7 separate regions of the Homo sapiens genome follow, and regions 1, 2, 3, 5, 6 and 7 are each linked to region 4. The links are contacts of gene promoters, found by promoter capture Hi-C in human tissues and cell types (Jung and others, 2019). All regions are on one chromosome and are shown on one strand. Each heading gives the region's core, a stretch centred on a gene start or on the middle of the fragment in contact. The rest is flanking DNA. Distances are from core to core; before and after follow the strand shown. Region 1 holds the start of PAK6 (p21 (RAC1) activated kinase 6). Region 2 overlaps BUB1B (BUB1 mitotic checkpoint serine/threonine kinase B). Region 3 overlaps CCDC32 (coiled-coil domain containing 32). Region 4 holds the start of KNSTRN (kinetochore localized astrin (SPAG5) binding protein). Region 5 overlaps BUB1B (BUB1 mitotic checkpoint serine/threonine kinase B). Region 6 overlaps BUB1B (BUB1 mitotic checkpoint serine/threonine kinase B). Region 7 has its middle 4.0 kb from the start of BUB1B.

Region 1 (3,086 bases), core at 581-3,080, 140 kb before region 4:
AGATGCGGAAGACTGAAGACTCACAGCCTGGACTTTTAACCAAACACCACATGGCTTCGCTACAGAAGAAAGTTAGAAAGTTTTCAAAAATAAAATGTAGAGCCAAGTGCCACCTTGGATATAAGGGACTGGGGGACGGGAAGAGGCAAGAACTCCCAGGCTTCCCTCTGGCTGTCAATAGCTAGTGGGTCCTGGCAGTGGGAGCTGGGCCATCAGAGGTGGCGCCTGAAGTGGGGCAGGCACAAAATGGGTTTTCGGGCAAGCATTTGCCCAGGTGATGGTCAAAGCCACAGAAAAAAGGTGTTTTGATGGAGTGGTGGCTGAGTGTGGGGAGAGATGAGCAGGGGACCAAGCCTGGAGCTTGGGCAGCCCACGATTGGACACTAGGAGAAGAAAAGAAGCCAGTGGAGGAGACACTGAGGCTAGGGATGGGGAGGGCACTGTGGAAGGCTGGGCTCCACCTGGCGCTCCGGGGAGCTGGCAGGGGGGCACATCAAGGAGCTCAAGCTGCCTCACCAGCAAATGCCTCTGTTTCTGACCAGGGGCAATGAAATAAAGGGACCCGGTTGAGTAACTGGTTTCTGGTCCCTGCCAGCCCAGGAAGCCAGCACCCACCCTGCCTTACATCCCATGTGCCACTCTCAGCCTTCGAAGCAAAACCAGCTGAGACCAGCACCTGCCAGATCTGAATGCGCAGCTCCAAGTTCTGGGGGGTGGGGGTGGGGGTGAGCCAAGGAGGTCTGGCTTCTCTAGGGCAAGGGTAGGAAGGACAGCAGGGAGGCTCACCCTGAGCCCGGCAGGCAGCCCTTCCTCCTCCTCCCCTTCAGCAAAGAAAGGCAGATAAAAACGTGTTTTTATAAATAGCTCCAGCCCCAGCTGATTTGTAAATTCAGTGGGTTTTTTGTGTCAATGACATCACCTTCCTCCCCATGGCAACCCCCGACGATATCAAAATTGCCAAGCAACGTTGGAGCAGCTCGGCGCCCCAAACGAGCAGGTCGATGCCTGAGGATTTAATGGAGAAATCCCAAAGTGAGCCGGGGCGCGCGGTGGAGGAGGGGCGCGCCGCAGCCGGGGCCGCTGGGCCCTGATGGGCGGGAGCGGGGTGGAGCGGCCTCGCCTGCCAGGCAGCCCTGGGCGCGGGGCTCGGCGGCCACACTCTGGAGACAGCCACGGTCCAGGCAGGTGGGGGAGGGCGCTGCTCCCGTCCTGATGTGCCAGGAGCCGCCAGCAGCCATCCAGGTGACTAAGCCGGCCCACTAGCACTGAGTCACCGCCCGCCTCGAGCTGTTCTTGCTTCTCCTTTGCATCTGATTATTTTGGGAGCTGGAAACTTGGAGCTGCACCTGAGTCCCGCCCCTTCTAGCTCTCCCCTCCCTACCTTGGGCTCCAGGAAGATGGGACTTGCTGTGAGTCTGCTGCCACCCCCTAAAGATATGGAAGACGCTGTGGGGGCCAGAAGTGCCCGGGGGGCTGTGGCAGCAGGCAGAGTGCAATAGCAGATATGGTGGTCAGGCTGCCTGTGTGTGTCCTCTGGAGGTGTTGGGACAGAAGGGCAGTCTTGTCCGAGCTGACTGGAGTCCTCCCGGGCTGGCTCTGAACTCATCTCCCACGGGGATGTTTCGGTAAAGGAGTGGCTTCTGGGGTCGGAGTGGCATTTGGAGAGCGAGGCTGGATTGGCTTAGGCTGGCCTGGGCAGGTAGGTGGCTCTGTGTTGGGTGTGGACCCACGTGTGTGTGAGTGCGAGAGTGTGTAAGCCAGTGTGTGTGCCGTCCCCCTGCTGGGGACAGCAGCTGGGTCCAGCAGAGAGCTGGCTGGGGGCTTGACAGGAGTTTATCCTAACTGATGCTGGGTGGGCGCAGGCCCTGAGATGGGCGTCAGGGAGAGGGGACGCCAGACACACGGCCTGAGCAGGGTGAGGAGCAGCTGCCAGCCCCGGCAGGCCCAGGCCCTGTCTGGGTGCACAGGACAGAGACACAGCAAGATGCCCAGGTAGGAAGCCGTCCGGAGGGGCTGGCCAGGGTGAGAGCCCATCACTGGGGGGCTGGACAGCCCATCAGCTGCCCCTTCATTCTGGCAGGCCTGGGTACCAAGGAAACAGCTTCCTACCAAGAACCATGTCACTCTCTTATGCAGGGCCAGTCAGCACCCATGTGCGTCTCTGCTGAGCTCACAGGGACACATTCAGTGAGAAGGGTGCTGGCCAGGGTACGGCTTCCCCATGATCAGGACCCAGCGGGTGCCACCCTCAAGCCCCTGGTCCCCACAGGGCATGCCCCAGTGTGTGTCAGGAGGAGGGGGGAGGTCCCTTCTCCCCCACACAGCTGGCAGCTTTGCGGGCACCAGTGAGTAAGCTGCCAGAGGGAGGGAGGCTGTGTGCCCACAGTGGCAGGACAATACCAACCAGGAGCCTTCAAGAGAAGAGGCTGGGTGAGAAAAGCACTGAGGTTTTCTTTTCCTTTTTTTTTTTTTTTTTTTTTCTATTTTGCCTGAAGGGAGTGCCGCTTCCTGGGCTAGAGACAAGCACCAGCCTGCAGTGGAGAACGCAGGACCCCGCTGCCCAGAAGGAGCAGCCACGGTAAGGTCCCCACTGCCGCTGCGTGCTCCGGATTCCTGGGCTAGGGACGGGGGTGCCAAGGTGTCCAGGCTGCCTCCCACCTGGGACAGGGAGGCTAACTCCACAGCTGTGGGTTCCTGGGTCAAGGGGCTCCACTCCCCACCCGGCCTGCCACCTTCTTTCCAGATTGATTGTGAAACAGTCCAATCCCAGCTGGTCTCTGGCTCCCTAGCTAGAGGGAGAGGTGCTTGTTTCTACTCTTCCTGCCCCAGCTGGGCCAAGCCAGTGCCACCGGGACACCCCTATCCAAGGCCCCTCTCACTTTACCACCTCTGGGACATTTCCCTTGTGTATTCATTCCACAAATATTTAGGGAGCACTGCTGGGTCCCAGGCTCCAAGTCACACCCTTTGGCTGGGTTTGACCTGGCACAGATTCTGACTCTGAAACTCAGCATCAGGGCAGGTTCAGGGAGCTGCCTGGCCAAGCACGGTCACTCCTCACAGGCCTTGGTCTCCCCACCCCTGCT
Region 2 (3,075 bases), core at 302-2,801, 180 kb before region 4:
GTTTATTTAATGCAAACAGCAAGAAGAGACGATGCCTACAAAGGAGACAACTAAACTGCAAATTGCTTCCGAGTCTCAGAAAATACCAGGAATGACTCTATCCAGTTCTGTTTGTCAAGTAAACTGTTGTGCCAGGTAAGACTACATAGGTGGAAGGGACAATGCATATAGGAGGGCATTTAGAACCAACCTTTGACTCTCTAGTGCCTTGAAGTCTCCTTGACGTTTACAGTATCGAGACATGGTTTTTGTAAGTCTCTGTCACAACATAAGCTTTGATGCTGATGAGGGAGGACAGAGCATTGACTATTTTCCACTGAAGAAACATGTTTCTTATAGAAACAAATACATATACTGTTTTTAAAAAACAAAATCACCCATTTCTACCACTAAGAGATGATTACCATTAACACTGTTCTGTCTCTTCTTTTGTGTTGTATTTTTGTTTTGTTTTATAAAAATGGCAGCTTACCATTTTGTAATCTGCTTATACTATTAATGCAACTTGACATCTATTATCAAATATATTTCTGCAACATTTTTGATAACCAAAGCTTCCATCTTCTTTAAGAGAATTTGAATTGACAGTAATAATTTATCTTAGAGTAAATATTATATTTAATGGAAAAGCCTCTTGGACTTTTAAAAATTAAACAGTTCTTTCTGTGGGTATTGAGCACATGATTTAAAACAAGTTTCTTTACAGAGAAACTTCACTTGCGGAGAACATTTGGCAGGAACAACCTCATTCTAAAGGTGAGTTGTATTTGACAGCCTTGAGAAGAACTTGCTGATAACAAATGTATTATGTAATAAATGGTAAATATTTTTAATTATGATAAAGGGATTGAAAGACAGGGGGACTAGGATACTAGGAATTTAGTATAAGCATATGCTTTATGATAGGAAAGACATTTGAAAGAGTATTTTTTTAAAGATTCCTCAGTGCTTCAAAATATTTGGTTTAATTGTAATTTTAAATTTACACTAACCACCAAATCTTATACTTTAGTTACTGTACACTAAACAGCAAAGACACTAAGGGAAGTGTTTCTTTTCAGGGAAAAAAAAATTTAAAGCTATTTTATACTCAAATTGGTTTTCTTTTCTTCAAAATGTGTTAAAAGTGGTGAAACATGAATATCTACTTGTAAATGGTTTGGCAAAAATAAAAATAAAAAACATTAAAATCTAATTAAACCTCTGTTTCTAACCGTCAATTTATTGGAAATATAAAGCATGGAGGAACGTTGTTAAACAACACAGCGGGATGGAATTGGCAAAATCCAGCATTATGGGGCTAGCAACCCAGTTTGTTCAACAAAAATTCCCCCCAAAACTCTATAGAATAAAAGAGATTTAAGAGGCATTTGAACAGTCACAGTATACGGATCTTAACTCTGCATTCCCAATTCAAACAAACTTTAAAAAAATTTTTTTTTATTTATTAATATTTTTTTGAGACTGAGTCTCGCTCTGTCGCCCAGGCTGGAGTGCGGTGGCGCGATCTCAGCTCACTACAAGCTCTGCCTCCTGGGTTCATGCCATTCTCTTGCCTCAGCCTCCCGACTAGCTGGGACTACAGGCGCCCACCACCACGCCCGGCTAATTTTTTTTTGTATTTTTAGTAGAGACGGGGTTTCATCATGTTAGCCAGGATGGTCTCGATCTCCTGACCTCGTGATCCGCCCACCATGGCCTCCCAAAGTGCTGGGATTACAGGTGTGAGCCACCACACCCGGCCAAAACATTTTTTTAATTGGTAAAATATGAAACTTCTCACTGGACATTTGATATTATATATATATTCATAAATTGTTCATTTTATAGGTAGGTATCATGTTTTGGGATTGGGATTTTTAAAAAGCCTCTTTTAGAAATATATACTGAAATATTTGCAGATAAAATGACATGTCTGGAATTTGCTTTAAAATAATCCTGTTGGGTTGGGTTTGGGGAGTAGTGACAGTGGTAGAGAATCTAAATGGAACAAGATCATCTAAGTTTAGGTAATTGGTAAATTGTTTAATGACCTTTTATATGTTTGAAGCTTTTTGTTATTAAAAAAACAGGTTGCCTTCCTGCTTTCAAACAACACAAAATATTGATTAATTTATCTGGTTGTCTTGAAGAGTAAAGCATTTACTCCTAGAGTATGTATCTAGTCTCTCTTTCTCTAGGTCCCAGTGTACCTTTCTCCATTTTTGATGAGTTTCTTCTTTCAGAAAAGAAGAATAAAAGGTACGTTGTTTTTTTGTTTTTTTGGTTTTTTTTTACTTAAGAATTTTCTGTTATTATAAGTGAGGATAAATTAGGGGTTACTGTTATGAAAAAAATTGCTAAGTGAGGTATGTCTTTTTCCAGTCCTCCTGCAGATCCCCCACGAGTTTTAGCTCAACGAAGACCCCTTGCAGTTCTCAAAACCTCAGAAAGCATCACCTCAAATGAAGATGTGTCTCCAGATGTTTGTGTAAGGAGCAGTATCCTTAAGTTAATGTAAATGGGCTAGTGGATTGTTTATTCAAAACCACAAAAGCTTAAGGTTAAAATTGAAACCACTGACTTGAATTAAGCACATGAAAAGATGCTCAGCATTACTACTCAACAGGGAAATGCAAATCAAAACCACAGTGAGATACTACTTTATATCCTCTAGGATAGCTATAATAAAAAATTACGCACAGTAACAAGTGTTGGCAAAATTGTGGAGAAATTAGAACATACATTACTGGTGGGAATGTAAAATGGTGTAGCCACTTTGGAAAACAGTTTGGCAGCTCTTTAAAATGTTAAACACAGTTACCATATGATCCTGCAGATCTCTGCCCAGGTATATACTCAAAATAATTGAAAACACATGTTCATACAAAAAATTTGTACACAAATGTTCATAGCCGTATTACTCATGATAGTGGAAACAACCCCAAATGTCCATCAACTGATGAATGGATAAACAAAATGTTATGTATCCATACCATGAAATATTATTTGGCAACAAAAAGGAATGAAGTACTAATACCTGTCACAACATAGATGAACCTTGAAAACGTTATGTCAAGTGAATGAAGCCAGATA
Region 3 (2,910 bases), core at 311-2,810, 170 kb after region 4:
GGCTCTAAAGCTTTAGCACTAAATATTGCTCCATTTGCTCTAACTTGCTGTCTATTTCACTAAGGAGGAAGAAGGAAGAAAGTCAGGGGTGATAAGTAAGATTCTACCAACTTACAAATCTTACTAGGTTGAGGAAGCCCTAACTGGAGTTCCTTGGAGTTTTCAGGGTCAAAGGAAAGAGATCAGCATTTTAGGCCAATACTATTTTTTCCTATGGTTAGTCCCATTACTGAAAAGGAACTGGAACATGAAGAGGTCACTTGACTTATTTGTGACCATTCAGTAAGCCACAAGACAGATAAAAGACAGCACCCAAGACTCTCAGTTTCAAATTTAGTGCCACTTCACTAGCCTAAGATAAATCTGTATTAACAAGTTAGCTTTGGGAGCTAGTGTCAAATTTGGTTTTGGTAAATGGAGTTTCACCTTTTTTTAGAGCCATTGTTTACGCTGTCACCTCTAAATCAATTAAGAAACTATAGCTACAACTCACTGGGTTCCCTTCCGTGGAGTCGTGCAGAGCTCCTCTCACACCGCACCCAGGTTTACACATGGGCTAGAAACCATTCAACTTACAAACTCTGTTTCAGTTCCTCTAAAGCGATTCTCCACCCTCTCATATTCCAATTTCTGTTTCTGAGGTAGAAAATGGGAAGTAGGGAAAAGGCAAAGCTAGAATCTTGCCTGAATGACAGAAACACTATTTTCGGGTACAGAAACATTCTCTTACCATCCCATGATCTGCACTTTGGGAGAGTGTTTTGGGACCTCATTGCTTTTTTTTTCTTAAACTGTTGTTTCTGAGGAAGAATAATTGTTGTTTGTTTATCATGCAGGGAGAATAAAAATTTTAGTTTTTCTTTCTTTAAAAAATCCATCCTGGCAGGGCACGGTGGCTGACGCCTGTAATCCCACCACTTTGGGAGGCCGAGGCGGGCGGATCATGAGGTCAGGAGATCCAGACCATCCTGGCTAACACGGTGAAACCCCGTCTCTACTAAAAATACAAAAAATTAGCCGGGCGTGGTGGTGGGCGCCTGTAGTCCCAGCTACTCGGGAGGCTGAGGCAGGAGAATGGTGTGAACCCGGGAGGCAGAGCTTGCAGTGAGCCAAGATGGCGCCACTGCACTCCAGCCTGGGCAAGAGAGTGAGACTCCATCTCAAAACAAAAAAATCCATCCTGAAAGCCATCAGATGGCCCTGGAGAGGAGTGAGGCCTGGCATCTGAACTCCAGGTGGAGATGGCAGCCTGCAAGCCTGGATGACCGTCAATATTCTGGCTTCCTCAATGTACCCAGGGGCCACAGAGAGCCACTCTCTGTGTCACACGTATCCTGCCAATAAAATGCAGTAGGAATAAAGCGACTAAATCTACTAATAAAGGTGTTAACCCAGTCCAGACAACATGGCGAAATCCCATCTCTACAAAAAATATAAAAAATAAGCTGGGCATGGTGGTATGCACCTGTAGTCCCAGATACTCGGGAGCCTGAGGCAGGATCACCTGAGCCCAGGAGGTCAAGACTGCAGTGAGCTGAGACCGTGCCACTGCCCTCCAGCCCTCCTGGTGATAGAGTGAGACCCTGTCTCAAAAAAAAAAAAAAAAAAAAAAAAAAAAGGTTAACCATTAGTCAATGAAAAGAGAGGAAAGGGCCAGGCATGGTGACTTGCACCTGTAATCCCAGCACTTTGAGAGGCCAAGGTGGAAGGATAGCTTGAGCCCAGAGGTTCGAGACTAACCTGGGCAAAATAATGCGACCCTGTCTCTACAAAAATTTTTTTTAAAAATTAGCCAGGCATAGTGGCACATGCCTATAGTCCCAGCTACTCAGGGGAAGCTGAGGCAGAAGGATGGATTGAGCCTGGGAGGTTGAGGCTGTAGTGAGCCATGATTGTCACTACACTCCAGCTTGGGTGATAGAGTGAGGAGACCTTGTCTCAAAAAAACAAAAAAAAAATAAAGAAGGAAAAAAGAGGAGCGGCCAGGCGCGGTGGCTCATGCGTGTAATCCCAGCACTTTGGGAGGCTGAGGCGGGCAGATCACCTGAGGTCAGGAGTTCGAGACCAGCCTCAACATGGAGAAACCCCAAATCTACTAAAAAAAATACAAAATTAGCCGGGCGTGGTGGTGCATGCCTGTAATCCCAGCTACTCAGGAGGCTGAAGCAGGAGAATTGCTTGAACCCGGGAGGCAGAGGTTGCGGGGAGCCAAGATCGCGCCATTGCACTCGAGCCTGGGCAACAAGGGCAAAACTCCATCTCAAAAAAAAAAAAAAAAAAAAAGAGGAAAGTATATTTGAATATTACAATAAAAATATTTGTATCACTAAGCAAGTATATGGAACCACCTAATTGGTTCCTATCCTTTTGGGCAAGACAAATACTTGATTTAGAAATGAGCAAACAATAGCCGGGTGTAGTGGTTTGCACCTGTAATTCCAACTACTCAGGAGGCTGAGGTGGGAGGATCACCTGAGCTCAGGAGTTTGAGGTTACAGTGAACTATATGATTGTACCATTGCACTCCAGCCTGGGCAACAAAGTGCGACCTCAAAAAAAAAAAAAAAAAAAAAAAAAAAGCAAATGTTCTCAGAAGATTTATTTATTCTATTTTTTCTTTTAGCTCCTCTCTCGATCGGAAGATTTTTACAGCCACCCTACTGATCTTTAGGGATTTGTAAACTATTACCCAGGAAGAAGGCCCATGGAGCTAAGGCCTCAGAACACCAAAGTCTGGACTGTCTGAGGGCACATGCTAATAACAGGAGGCTGGCAAAGTGGCCAGCTCCCATGCCTTTGCATGCATTTGTCTTTACCTCCTGCTGCCTGGGAACATCCTTCCAGGAGCAATCGAGTCAACAGCACCACAGACACTGCTATTCCGTTGAGAAAAGTTTTATATGGAAACAC
Region 4 (3,013 bases), core at 282-2,781:
CGTGCCACTGCACTCCAGCCTGGGCAACAGAGTGAGACTCCGTCTCCAAAAAAAAAAAGAAAGAAAAGAATATATATATAAAGTATATATAAATTGAGCCAGGTACAGTGGCTCATGCCTGTAATTCCAACACTTTGGGAGGCTGAAGTGGGAGGATCATTTGAGGCCAGGGGTTTAAGACCAGCCTGGGCATCATAGCAGGACCCCATCTCTACAAAAATTAGCTGGGTCTGGTGGCAGGCACCTTTAGTCTTAGCTACTCAGGAGGCCGAGGTGGGAGGATCTCCTGAGCCCAGGAGTTCAAGGTTGCAGTGAACTATGATTGCACTCCAGCCTGGGCAACAGAGTGAGACCCTGTCTCAAAAAATAATAATAAAATAAAATAAAATATAAATTGGATGACACTCTCCTGCTATAATACTTCAGTGGCTTTCCATTACTTTTAGATAAAATCTAATCTCTATACCTTGGCCTGTAAAATCTGTCTTTTGACTGCTTATTTCTCCAGCTTTATCTGTACCACTCTCTTCCTATCTTTCTGTGCCTATAGAAGAACCCATTTCTGCCTTGGGACTTTGCATTTTCCCCTTTCCCCAATGAAATTAACTCCCTCTCCTTCCTTAATCAAACATCATCTCAGAGAGGTCTTCCCTGAGCCCCCAATATAATCTAAGTTTCCCTGCTTTTCTATCTTATACGATTTTGTACTTTTTCTTCATAGTGTGTGTGTTTTGGTTTGATTTTTGAGATCACGCTCTGTCACCCAGGGTGAAGTGCAGTGGCGCGATCTCCGCTCACTGCAACCTCTGCCCCGCCCAGGGTCACATAATTCCCCCACCTCAGCCTCCAGGGTAGCTGGGACTACAGGAGCATGCCACGACACCTGGCTAATTTCTGTATTTTTTGTAGAGACGGGGTTGCACCATGTCGCCCAGGGTGGTCTCAAACTCCTGGACTCAAGCAATTCACCCGCCTCCACCTCCCAAAGTGCTATAATTACAGCTGTGAGCCACTGTGCCCAGCCTTCTTCACAATTTCACCACAATCCGTAAATATATATTTATTTATGTGATTATTTGTTCACTGTCTGTTTTCTAAGTTGTAAACTCCAGGAGGGCAGAGCCAAGGTCAATCTTGATATTTGCCCTCCCTCACTCCCTTCCACCCACTGAGAACACTGTTGGGTAATCAGCAGGTACTCAATAAATGCCAGATGAAATGAATGAGCTAGTGCATTTAGTAATGGAAGCTACCCTGTTTATTGGGAGTAGCTTTGAATCACTACTGAAAATCTGGATAAGTGCTATTAAAATTAGGACCTCAGGTAGGTGCCTCAGGTATCTCAGCCCATAGGTCCTTTTCTTCAAGCCTCACCTGCCACTCTCCACCTGTAACGTGTAGTTTTCATCCAAATAACCTGTGCTCCTGGCAATATCCCTAACAATCCCAAACTAAATAAAGAGGATTGTGACATGGACCCTAAATGTCGCCACGTTTGCGTCTCCATCCCGGAATATGACGCTGGTAGCTCATTAGCTCCATTCAAGCCTACAAATTGCATCACCCTCCTCCTCTGCCCAGACCTGGGGGCTCCAACACCTTTCGCTAGGTCTGGCTCTGGCCTCTGAGCGAACCTTCCGTACAGTATGGCGGCTCCCGAAGCCCCGCCCCTGGACAGAGTTTTCCGTACAACATGGCTGTCTACAGAGTGCGATTCCCACCCACTTCCGCCTAGCTACCGGAAGTTTCTATTTGAAACCCAGGCGGCCGACTTAGCCGGTGGCACGACAGTTGCTGCAGGGAATCTTTTAAACGAGAGCGAGAAGGACTGCGGGCAGGACCGGCGGGCTCCTGGGTTCGGCTCTCCCGGGGCGAGGGACTGGGCTGGATGGGAGGAAGGACGGAATGAGCTGGGAAAGGAGGATTTTCTCTTTTCCAACCCCGAGCCGGGGCCTGTCGGGTCGCGCTATCCCCGGGCCCTCCACTCTCTCGGGCCCAGTGGCCCAGCGCTGGGTAACATTCATCCTGTACCTTCCAGGGTTCAGCCGTGCCGCCTCGTTACGATGACCAGTGTGGTTAAGACAGTGTATAGCCTGCAGCCCCCCTCTGCGCTGAGCGGCGGCCAGCCGGCAGGTGAGGGTCCAAGCCACGCCCGGGGCACTGCGGCCTGGCCGGGGATGGTCTCGGGAGTGTGGAGATCGAATGGGTGGCGCGGGCACGGGGAAGGGCGTCCCGTCGGCCCTGAAAACCTGTGAGCCCCCTATAACCAGGCTATGTAGGTTTATGATGGGAGTTAAGGGAAGGACCATGTGGTAGGATTTTAGACGTGCTCTGCACTTTTCTGCCCGCATGTGTACTGTATTCATCAGTTAGATTCAAGTTGTTGGTTATTGTACAATGTTATTCCCATTAAGCTAGGAATCCCCTTCTAATCGGTTATCGTCTTATTTCCAGACTTGGGCTATCTTGAGGGATTGGGTTTGTTTTCAGGGAGGAAAGAGGAGAATCATTTGAGAAGTGGGATACTTAGGGTTCTTTGTTCACCTTTATATCTGCACCGTGTTTCTCATTACCACATTCTCAATACACGTTTGTTGAGTGAAGTGGGAGAGAGGGGTTAGACCTAGGCACAGTATTTGAGAAACTTGGGCGAAGAGAGAGACATGATTAAAAATAGTTTTTAATTGCTTTGCCATCTGCTTTGTGTTGCTTTGCTTGTGGTTGAAAGTCATCTCATGGGGTCTGCAGTCGGGGAACTGCCTAATCTAGAGATTATAGTACAGAGTAAGCTTCAGACATCAGAAAACTGTTGTGGGAGATTATGGAGTAGCTATTTATGATCCCTTCCCAGATGATTCCACTCAGCTGGTACATAAACCTTGGCAAGATGGAGCGCTGAAGTGGCCAGGCACGGTGGCTCACGCCTGTAATCCCAGCACTTTGGGAGGGCGAGGTGGGCAGATCACGAGGTCAGGAGATGGAGACCATCCTGGCTAACACGGTGAAGCACCGT
Region 5 (3,054 bases), core at 18-2,517, 160 kb before region 4:
GAATGTCAGGGTCTCTGCCTGTCCCAATAATTTTCTGTTTCTCTTGGGTGCTATCTCTGCTTTGGCAGCCTTAGTTTTTTAATCCAAATGCCATGGTTCCAGTAGTTTCAGCCAGTTTTCATTAGAGTATCAGCAGAGCAGCTAGTGCAGGAAAAAGGAACTGCTTACTAAAAATAAGATTCAAAACTATTCAGACTTCAGGACATCATTCTGAATCTAGCTGTATCTTCCAGACTACAGCTATAGTATGGAAGCTTCCCTGTTTAGATATGTGAAAAGAAGCATTTCATGAGAATAATTTTCTAACTAATTGGTGTTAGCCTTAAATTCCTTTTTCTTTATTTATTTATTTTTTGAGACGGAGTCTCGCTCTGTTGCCCAGGCTGGAGTGCAGTGGCATGATCTCGGCTCACTGCAACCTCTGCCTCCCAGGTTCAAGTGATTCTCCTGCTTCAGCCTCCTGAGTAGCTGGGATTACAGGCGTGCGCCACCATGCCTGGCTCATTTTTGTATTTTTAGTAGAGATGCGGTTTCACTACGTTGGCCAGGCTGATCTCGAACTCCTGACCTTGTGATCCGCCCGCCTCGGCCTCCCAAAGTGCTAGGATTACAGGTGTGAGCCACCGTGTCTGGCCTAAATTCCTTTTTAATAGCAATTATTACCAAAAGTTAATAAGCATCCTTTGAAAAGACTTACATTTCTAAACTATATGCTAATTTTAGGCTATTTTTTATTTAATAAGTGGATAGAACCAAACCAGATAACTGACTCTCCTGGAGAAGAAGTAAGTGGTCTCTTAATAAGCACTGCTTGGTCTCAGAACCTTAGTACTCCCTCAAGCCTGCTCATAAAACTTACTAAGTCAGCCGGGCATGGTGGCTCACACCTGTAATCACAGCACTTTGGGAGGCCGAGGCAGATTACCTGAGGTCAGGAGTTTGAGAGCAGCCTGGGCAACATGGCGAAACCTTGTCTCTACTCAAAATACAAGAAAATTAGCTGGGTGTGGTGGCACATGCCTGTAATCCTAGCTACTTGGGAAGCTGAGGCACGGGAATCACTTGAACCTGGGAGGCAGAGGTTGCAGTGAGCTGAGATCGCGCCACTGCACTCCACCCAGGGCAACAGAGTGAGACTCCGTCTCAAAAAAAACTAAGTATCTACGTTCCACTTTAGCTTATCTTAGCAAATAAGTTCCCAGCCTGTCACCTATTGTTATATTCTTTGGTTAAAAAAAAAAATGAGTGTTGAAGATTTAATGCCCCTTCTCTATTTTCATCTTTGAATAATTGAATTGTACTTTTCTCTTCATTTAATTCAGAACTTGGCCAGTGTTGTCTCTTACATGAACTTTTAAAAATAGGCTTGAAATACAATGTAAGACATATAGGATGGATATAGGCATGTCCACTTGGCTATGGTCCAGGCAGGTCTGGCTAACACAAGCAGAAACAAGTGGGGTCAGTTGGGGTTTCCTAACAGCCCTGCCTTATCTAATAAGGGAAGTTTCTCTGATCAAAAGAAAATAATAAGAAGCAAAGGTACAAACATATTAAGCAGTAGTTAGTTTAGTCAAGCTTACGATTATCAGAGAATTGTAAAGAAGATCCACTACTGGGGTAGGAGAAAGGAGCTGTAGCCTTTTTAATGACCTAGACTCTAGGAAAGTTAGAGGAAATAAAATTCCTTTTTCTTCTATTTGTAGAAGAAAAGTGCTATGTCTTAGTACACAGAGGAAATTTATAGATTTAGATGAGAGATCTTCTTTCCCTTTATGTGCATTGTATCTTGGCTTTTCCCACTATGGTAGCCCTTTTTTGTAGTTCTTCCCTGGGCTTTCAAAGGACTATTTGAATGATCTCTAACCCTAGAGTTCTAGGTATTACCTTACACCATTTTGGTGCATAAATGTACCACTGAGTTAAACTAAAAGGAATTATAATTTTCATATGCCTAATCTTGATGGAAATGGTTTTATATATTTTTAGGCTAAAAGATGGTGAATTGTGGAATAAATTCTTTGTGCGGATTCTGAATGCCAATGATGAGGCCACAGTGTCTGTTCTTGGGGAGCTTGCAGCAGAAATGAATGGGGTTTTTGACACTACATTCCAAAGTCACCTGAACAAAGCCTTATGGAAGGTAGGGAAGTTAACTAGTCCTGGGGCTTTGCTCTTTCAGTGAGCTAGGCAATCAAGTCTCACAGATTGCTGCCTCAGAGCAATGGTTGTATTGTGGAACACTGAAACTGTATGTGCTGTAATTTAATTTAGGACACATTTAGATGCACTACCATTGCTGTTCTACTTTTTGGTACAGGTATATTTTGACGTCACTGATATTTTTTATACAGTGATATACTTACTCATGGCCTTGTCTAACTTTTGTGAAGAACTATTTTATTCTAAACAGACTCATTACAAATGGTTACCTTGTTATTTAACCCATTTGTCTCTACTTTTCCCTGTACTTTTCCCATTTGTAATTTGTAAAATGTTCTCTTATGATCACCATGTATTTTGTAAATAATAAAATAGTATCTGTTAAATTTGTGCTTCTAACATGTCATGTAGTTTTTGCAAACTAAAATAACAGATGGCTTAACTTTGCAGAGATGAACTATTTTGCCATGGAAATTTATATATCCTAGACTTCGAATTGTTACAATAGGGTTGTGATGAGACAGAGTAGCCAACTATTTCTTTAGGTGGGTCTGACCTTCCAATAAGTGGTCTAGACTGAAAAGTAGGTAAGATGATATGCATAAGACCAAATATCCTTCAATTTCAAGTGGCATGATTGTATACATGGCTTATGTTTTAATGTTTTCACTTTTTTGGAGACAGGGTGTCCTCTGTTGCCCAGGCTATAGCCTTGATTTCCCAGGCTCTGGCAATTTTCCCACCTCAGCCTCCCAAGTAGTTGGGAGCACAGGCGCACACCACCACATCTGGCTAATTTTTTGTATTTTTGTAGAGATGGGATTTCGCCACAGTGCCCAGGCTGGTCTCAAACTCCTGGGCTCAAGTGATCTGCCCACCTCGGCTGCCCAA
Region 6 (2,999 bases), core at 210-2,709, 200 kb before region 4:
AGTTAGTTGCTTTTTTTGTATATGGTCTATAGTTTTTAATTCCTATCAGTGAGAGAAAGAGAAAAGGTACAGTGGGCATACTCCATCTTGGCCAACACCTGCAATTTATTCTGGGTTTTTTGGGGTTTTTTTTACCCTTATGATAATACTTTTTAAGGCTAGTTAAATGAAGCAGTGGTAGGAATGGAGAATCTCTTCTGATAATACTTAAAACTGTGGCAGCAGCATAGGAAGTTTACTTTTCAAACTTCTGCCAGCTTTGCTAAAGTACAATGTCATGTCATATGCAACTTCATTTCATATAGGTCAGGAGAAACCGTATATGTGTGTGCGTGCACGTGCGCGCATGCATGTGTATAGAAAAAGAGACACAGTGATAAAATAGATGTGGCACAGTGTTAACAATTGGTGGGTCAAGTTTTCTAATAAAAAGTTAGTGGGAAAACTCTAATCTTAATAAACTCTGTGATCTTAGTCTTAATAACCCTAACCTGATCCTCAGATCAACTTAATGGTGATTTTCAGAATAATTTAAATTGGTCAAACTTGGGCATTTAAAGGGAGAGTTAAATAATTCTAGCCAAAACTTTTCATGATCTTAAGGTGACTCTCTTTACTTCTGAGAGAATAAACATGTTCTTTGGGATATTTCTGCATTCTTCCCCCAGCCTGCTCTTCTAATTTGTTTACTTTAACAAATTGGAAATTTTGAGTCTGGTAAAATAGTGGTCACCTCACTAAAAGTTGTGCATTCTGCTACTTTAGACAATTCCAAGCTCGAGTGTCTCGGCAAACTCTGTTGGCACTTGAGAAAGAAGAAGAGGAGGAAGTTTTTGAGTCTTCTGTACCACAACGAAGCACACTAGCTGAACTAAAGAGCAAAGGGAAAAAGACAGCAAGAGCTCCAATCATCCGTGTAGGAGGTGCTCTCAAGGGTAAGTTTGTTAAACGTTATTTCGGAAAACTGTTAGTTTCTAGTGGTAAAATCATGTAAGAAGATAATACATAAATATACCTGTGGACACTTCTAGTTTGCTGAATACTGAGTAGCAAAAAGAAGGAAGTCAAAGGAGAGCTAATATTACAGTGTGCAGTAAAATCAAAATGCATCAGTAATTTTGTGTCTTAATTAAGAAAGACCTAACATTTAGGAAGCATCAAGATTTTCTGAGTTTGAATTGTTAGTTGAAAGAAGATATGTAGTAACATAGCAGGTGTTGTTAAAGTGAAGCTTACATATACCAAAGCCTCAGAGAATGATACTAATATGGTTAAGAACCCTGCCTTCAGAGCCCTTTGGGACCAGAAATTAGACTCTCTATATACCCAAAGATCAGCAATAATTTTTTTTAATTAACATGGACTTTTTTTTTTTTTGAGAGATAGGTTCTCGCTCTGTTGCCTGAAACGTGGTAGTGCAATCATAGCTCACCGCAGCTTCAAACTCCTAGGCTCAAGCAGTTCTTTTGCCTCAGCCTCCCAAGTAGCTAGGATTATAGGTGTGAGCCACTGCATCTGGACAACACTGACTATTTTTTAGAGTAGTTTTAGGTTCATAGCAAAATTGAGCAGAAGGTACAGAGAATAATAAGCTTTTATTTACTAAATTTATAGCAGTTAGACATGTAAACCAGGCTGTTTTTTTAATCTCTTATTTCTTTCCTGGTATCAATTTATCAATAATCAGAATGTTACTTGGTGGTTCTAGAATTAGGATATAGGGAGTGTATGGTCCCAAAGGCTATTTCATCCAGATCATGATGAAGCTTGGTTAATAACCAGCCCCACAACAGAGAAAACCCCTAATAAATGGGTTAATTTTGTATTCTCTAGTTCCAGTATATCTCTGCTGATTTCCATTGAGAGAAAATTTAAAACTGAAGAATAAAACTTAGGTTAGTTTCTGATAAAACTAGATAATGTTATAATGATGACTGAAGGAAGATGCAGAATGTCTTTTTTGGAAATTTGTGAATAAAAGATGTGGGGTGACTGGAGGAGGGAAAAGAAGGCAGAATATAAGTAACAAAGAATGGATAAAACGATTCTATTTTTGATTTATTAATTTTTTTAAAGATTATTTTTAAAATTTCTTTTTTTTTTTCTGTTGTAGTGGAAATACTGTCCTTGAGTTGAGGAAGAATAGGTATACTTTATCTGGCATCTAAGTTAATAATGAAACATTTTACATGAGGTTTTAATATTTTTGCTCCTAGCTCCAAGCCAGAACAGAGGACTCCAAAATCCATTTCCTCAACAGATGCAAAATAATAGTAGAATTACTGTTTTTGATGAAAATGCTGATGAGGCTTCTACAGCAGAGTTGTCTAAGCCTACAGTCCAGCCATGGATAGCACCCCCCATGCCCAGGGCCAAAGAGAATGAGCTGCAAGCAGGCCCTTGGAACACAGGCAGGTCCTTGGAACACAGGGTAAGGACTCTTAGATCCAGTGCTTTGCTGACACAACAAAGACTTCACATTTAGGGTAGAGAAGTATTTTTACCATCTCTTTTAATTCCTCTTGAATATTTAGCCATGGTCTATATATGCTGTCTGAGAACATAAAACTATGGTAATTTTAGTTTTCTTCTTCATCTCCAGCCTCGTGGCAATACAGCTTCACTGATAGCTGTACCCGCTGTGCTTCCCAGTTTCACTCCATATGTGGAAGAGACTGCACGACAGCCAGTTATGTGAGTGTGGTTTTTGGATATTTTGAAGTGGGAATTATTAAGGGTGGGCAGAGGCACCTATTCTACTTCCCAAAGGCAGTTTCTTCTTTATGAAGATGAAAGTAACCAGGCCAGGCGCAGTAGCTCACACCTGTAATCCCAGCACAGGCTGAGGCAGGAGGATCCCTTGAGCCTAGGTGTTCAAGACCAGCCTGGGCAGCCTAGTGAGACCCTGTCTCTATTTATTAAAAAAAAAAGTAACCAGACAAAATTTTGTATATCCTTTATGTTTGTATTCCTTTGAGTATGTTAGGGTTAAAAGACCA
Region 7 (3,084 bases), core at 323-2,822, 230 kb before region 4:
CCTTCCCAGAAGTGGGAGGAATAGGTGGTTCCACAGCTGGGAAACTTGAGAGCTCAGTGGGATAAGCCCCTGCTTTGACAATGCAGCTGGATGCCCGCCCTGGGCTCAAAACTGAAGGGGCTGGGTTTGCTCCCCACCTGCTGCTTGTCAGGCACAGTGAGTCAGGGTCTCATTTCAGGTCCTCACAACTCTCCTAGGCTCCTGCCATTGCAACCACCTGCACTTCCCCAGATGCCGAATGCACTCTCACTCTCCTGCCTCCTAGTCCTTCCTGTGCTATTCTCTCCACCTGGAAAGCCCCTTCTCTCTTTTTAGTAACTCCTACTCATTTTTAAAGACCCCTCTTGGCAGCAATCCCAACCTCCCTTTCTCTTGTTCTCTCAGCCCCCATGCTTGGGTGTGGGAGGGCCCCCATCCTCTTTCAAGTTCCCCTAACTCCAGGCTCCTGCTGGGGCTATAGCTCATAAGCTGTTATATCATAGATTGTTTTGTTTTTCTTGAGCATAAGACTGGTGCTTTTTTCATATTTATATCTCTGGTGCCTGGCACAGCACCCGACACAAAATATTCAAGAAATGTTTGTCAAATGAATGGTGGACATCCTAGAGTGCTTGGTCCAACAAGGTCATGTGCTAGCTATTCTCTTTTGTTCATTACTGTCAATCAGTCAGTTAACCAGTATTGATTGAGTACCTGCCTCGGGCCAGGTCCTAGGGATGAAGAGTTAGAACCCATATTCTCATAGCTTTTCTACACCAGTGAAGAAAACAAGGCTAACTGGAGCCTTTGACTGCTAGAAAGAGGTCAACTGGTCCAATATCTTTGTTTACCACTGAGGAGGAAGGCGCAGCCTGTGGGTAGACGGATGGGCCTCTCTCATGCTCGTCTGTGTAGTGGGGTCTTCCTCATGTCAGCTGCCATAGGTAACTCATATTCATTGTTGGGAGTCTGTTCCAGGCACACATCCCACAGCTGGCAGTAGTCAGCCTCTCAAATGCCACATCTTCCTCATTGACAACAAAGGGAACCAGAGCTAGCAAGAAAAAAAAAAGCCTTTTCTCTTGGAATGCCCACTGCCTTCTATAGCTGTGTTAGGCCATTTTTGCATTGCTCTCAAGAAATACCTGAGGCTGGGTAATTTATAAAGAAAAGAGGTTTAATTAGCTAGAGATTCTGCAGGCTGCACAGGAAGCATGGCGCCAGCATCTGCTTGGCTTCTGGTGACGGAGGCCACAAGGAGCTTTTACTTCTGGTGGAAGATGAAGAAGGAGCAAGAGAGAGAAAGGGGCGTACCACATACTTTTAACGACCAGATCTCAGGTGAACTCAGAATGAGAACTCACCATTCACCAAGGGGATGGTACTAAGACATTCATAAGGGATCTGCCCCAGGATCCAAACACCTTCCTTCAGGCCCCATCTCCAACAATGGAGAAGCCTCTTTCTATGCGAGATTTGGAGAGGACAAACATCCAAACCATGTCAATAGCTCCTTACAAAGGGTTTGGACGGAAAACTAGAAATAGGCTCAGATAGATCCAGAGAGGTTTGCAGCCCTCCATGCCATCTTTGGCTGTTAGGAGATGATGTTTCTAACTCTGCTTGTCTGGATTCTGTTCTCCCTGCTTTAGCTTGGGAGCCCGTGTTGGAAGAAAGGCACTGAAATGCCTCAGAGCAACAAGTGTCAAAGACCTACATGGAGAGCGGAAGCTTGTGGTTGTCTTGGCTCAAGAGGCTGGGGTTGGCCAGGCACGATGGCTCATGCCTGTAATCCCTGCACTTTGGGAGGTCGAGGCAGGCAGATCACCTGAGGTCAGGAGTTCAAGACCAGTCTGGCCAACATGGTGAAACCCAGTCTCTACTAAAAATACAAAAATTAGCCAGGCGCCTATAGTCCCAGCTACATGGGAGGATGAGGCAGGAAGATCGCTTGAACCTGGGAGGTGGAGGTTGCAGTGAGCAGAGATTGTGCCACTGCACTTCAGCCTGGGTGAGAGAGTGAGACTGCATCTCAAAAAAGAGGCTGGGGTTCTCATCTTTGGTATGTTCAATCATCCCAGAGGTGAGCCTGAAATTCTAAAACATAAAGAGTTCCTCCAAAGTTGCTCTGGGCGGGTCCCAAATTCAAGTTTCCCACTGGCCCTCAGTCTCCTAAGGTTGTTTTAAAGGGAGAATGTTGGCCAATTCTGACTGGGACCCACACCTCCAGGTAAAACTTTAAAAGGACAGCCTTTAGAGAAGAAGGCAGAGATGGGAAAGAGGTAAAACAGCTGTCACCTCTCTTAATTCTAACAATCTTCTCGCACCTAGCTGTAGCCAACTTAGTTCCCACATTCAGCGAAGTTAAGTTGTTTCCAATCATTTGGCCCCTCCCAGCCTGGGGGCCTCTGACCTCTGGCCTTTCTTTGGAAAAGCAATGCAGAGTCCAGATCTGCAGGAGTAGCTCCCAGCTGGGCCCCCGAGAAGGGAAGAAGCAAACTTTCCACAGTTTGCACCAAGACCCAGGAGGCAATGTCAGAGAGGAAGTGAGGAAGCCTGCCTGGCAGAAAAGCAATGGCGGCTCAGACATATCCACCCACAGACACTCCATTCTCCTGCAAGTGTCCCCACAATGGATTGGCTCTGCCAGGAGCCATCCCTACCCCCATTCAGCTATCTTAGAATTGTCACCTCCTGAAATAAGGACAGAACATTATGTAACCCATTTCCTCAGGCCTCAGACCTATGGAGTCACATGCACTAGTCAGGAGAATCCCATTGGCTCTTCCATAGGGCCCCAGGGCCGCTGCACACAGGGCTTTGTGTGAATTAGAGAGAGGAGGCCTCTCTGGGCACTTTTGAAGGTGCCTTCTCTGAGTAGAAAAAGCAGAAAAATGTCCCCATTTGCGTGACAGGCACTCTCGGATGCAGCAATATTTATGCAACTGTATGTGTGGCACTGAATGAGTCCCTCCTTTTGAAGCCTTCCCTAGGTGGTCTGGGTGTTTTCAGAGCATCTGCCATGTTCCTCCTGTCCTGCTCAAGCTCTCTCTGGTTGATGGCCTCTGTCTCCAAGGCTACTGGAGGACATCTTGCTTCTGCTGG

Evidence for each region. Contacts are between HindIII fragments. The study calls those that stand out against the background at their distance.
Region 1: a fragment that was not itself captured here is called in contact with the fragment with the promoter of KNSTRN in region 4 in 1 of the 25 tissues and cell types used here (aorta).
Region 2: a contact is called between a fragment that was not itself captured here and the fragment with the promoter of KNSTRN in region 4, in 3 of the 25 tissues and cell types used here (IMR-90 fibroblasts, bladder and mesenchymal stem cells).
Region 3: a contact is called between a fragment that was not itself captured here and the fragment with the promoter of KNSTRN in region 4, in 1 of the 25 tissues and cell types used here (IMR-90 fibroblasts).
Region 5: a contact is called between a fragment that was not itself captured here and the fragment with the promoter of KNSTRN in region 4, in 3 of the 25 tissues and cell types used here (bladder, mesenchymal stem cells and ovary).
Region 6: a fragment that was not itself captured here is called in contact with the fragment with the promoter of KNSTRN in region 4 in 2 of the 25 tissues and cell types used here (liver and mesenchymal stem cells).
Region 7: a contact is called between a fragment that was not itself captured here and the fragment with the promoter of KNSTRN in region 4, in 2 of the 25 tissues and cell types used here (H1 embryonic stem cells and IMR-90 fibroblasts).

What each region holds. Positions count from the first base shown.
Region 1 is chr15:40,238,104-40,241,189 of GRCh38, forward strand. All of the region lies in intron 1 of BUB1B-PAK6 (BUB1B-PAK6 readthrough), which reads left to right. It overlaps PAK6 (p21 (RAC1) activated kinase 6), which reads left to right and starts at 960. Exons shown (of 11, transcript NM_001395430.1): 1 at 960-1,699; 2 at 2,496-2,578. It overlaps LOC107984763 (a long non-coding RNA gene), which reads right to left and starts at 1,598. Exons shown (of 3, transcript XR_001751506.2): 1 at 1,382-1,598. The HindIII fragment of the contact is 8,776 bases long and covers 1-3,086 here.
Region 2 is chr15:40,200,225-40,203,299 of GRCh38, forward strand. It overlaps BUB1B (BUB1 mitotic checkpoint serine/threonine kinase B), which reads left to right. Exons shown (of 23, transcript NM_001211.6): 11 at 20-135; 12 at 707-756; 13 at 2,181-2,241; 14 at 2,365-2,470. All of the region lies in intron 1 of LOC107984763 (a long non-coding RNA gene), which reads right to left. Among named protein-coding and RNA genes, the nearest start is that of BUB1B-PAK6, 16 kb to the right of the region's middle. The HindIII fragment of the contact is 3,067 bases long and covers 19-3,075 here.
Region 3 is chr15:40,550,220-40,553,129 of GRCh38, forward strand. It overlaps CCDC32 (coiled-coil domain containing 32), which reads right to left. Exons shown (of 4, transcript NM_001080792.4): 4 at 2,880-2,910. Among named protein-coding and RNA genes, the nearest start is that of CCDC32, 13 kb to the right of the region's middle. The HindIII fragment of the contact is 4,888 bases long and covers 1-2,910 here.
Region 4 is chr15:40,381,190-40,384,202 of GRCh38, forward strand. KNSTRN (kinetochore localized astrin (SPAG5) binding protein) reads left to right here and starts at 1,532. Exons shown (of 9, transcript NM_033286.4): 1 at 1,532-1,855; 2 at 2,039-2,133. The coding sequence starts at 1,647. RefSeq lists enhancers at 410-910, 1,536-1,605, 1,565-2,088, 1,854-2,023, 2,089-2,610. The HindIII fragment of the contact is 15,043 bases long and covers 1-3,013 here.
Region 5 is chr15:40,218,575-40,221,628 of GRCh38, forward strand. It overlaps BUB1B (BUB1 mitotic checkpoint serine/threonine kinase B), which reads left to right. Exons shown (of 23, transcript NM_001211.6): 23 at 1,990-2,549. The coding sequence ends at 2,185. All of the region lies in intron 1 of BUB1B-PAK6 (BUB1B-PAK6 readthrough), which reads left to right. All of the region lies in intron 1 of LOC107984763 (a long non-coding RNA gene), which reads right to left. Among named protein-coding and RNA genes, the nearest start is that of BUB1B-PAK6, 2.7 kb to the left of the region's middle. The HindIII fragment of the contact is 3,322 bases long and covers 1-2,928 here.
Region 6 is chr15:40,182,949-40,185,947 of GRCh38, forward strand. It overlaps BUB1B (BUB1 mitotic checkpoint serine/threonine kinase B), which reads left to right. Exons shown (of 23, transcript NM_001211.6): 6 at 766-935; 7 at 2,217-2,431; 8 at 2,603-2,694. The region is part of intron 1 of LOC107984763 (a long non-coding RNA gene); the gene reads right to left. Among named protein-coding and RNA genes, the nearest start is that of BUB1B, 23 kb to the left of the region's middle. The HindIII fragment of the contact is 4,788 bases long and covers 1-2,999 here.
Region 7 is chr15:40,155,487-40,158,570 of GRCh38, forward strand. No RefSeq gene overlaps it. Among named protein-coding and RNA genes, the nearest start is that of BUB1B, 4.0 kb to the right of the region's middle. RefSeq lists an enhancer at 1,983-2,843. The HindIII fragment of the contact is 5,307 bases long and covers 1-3,084 here.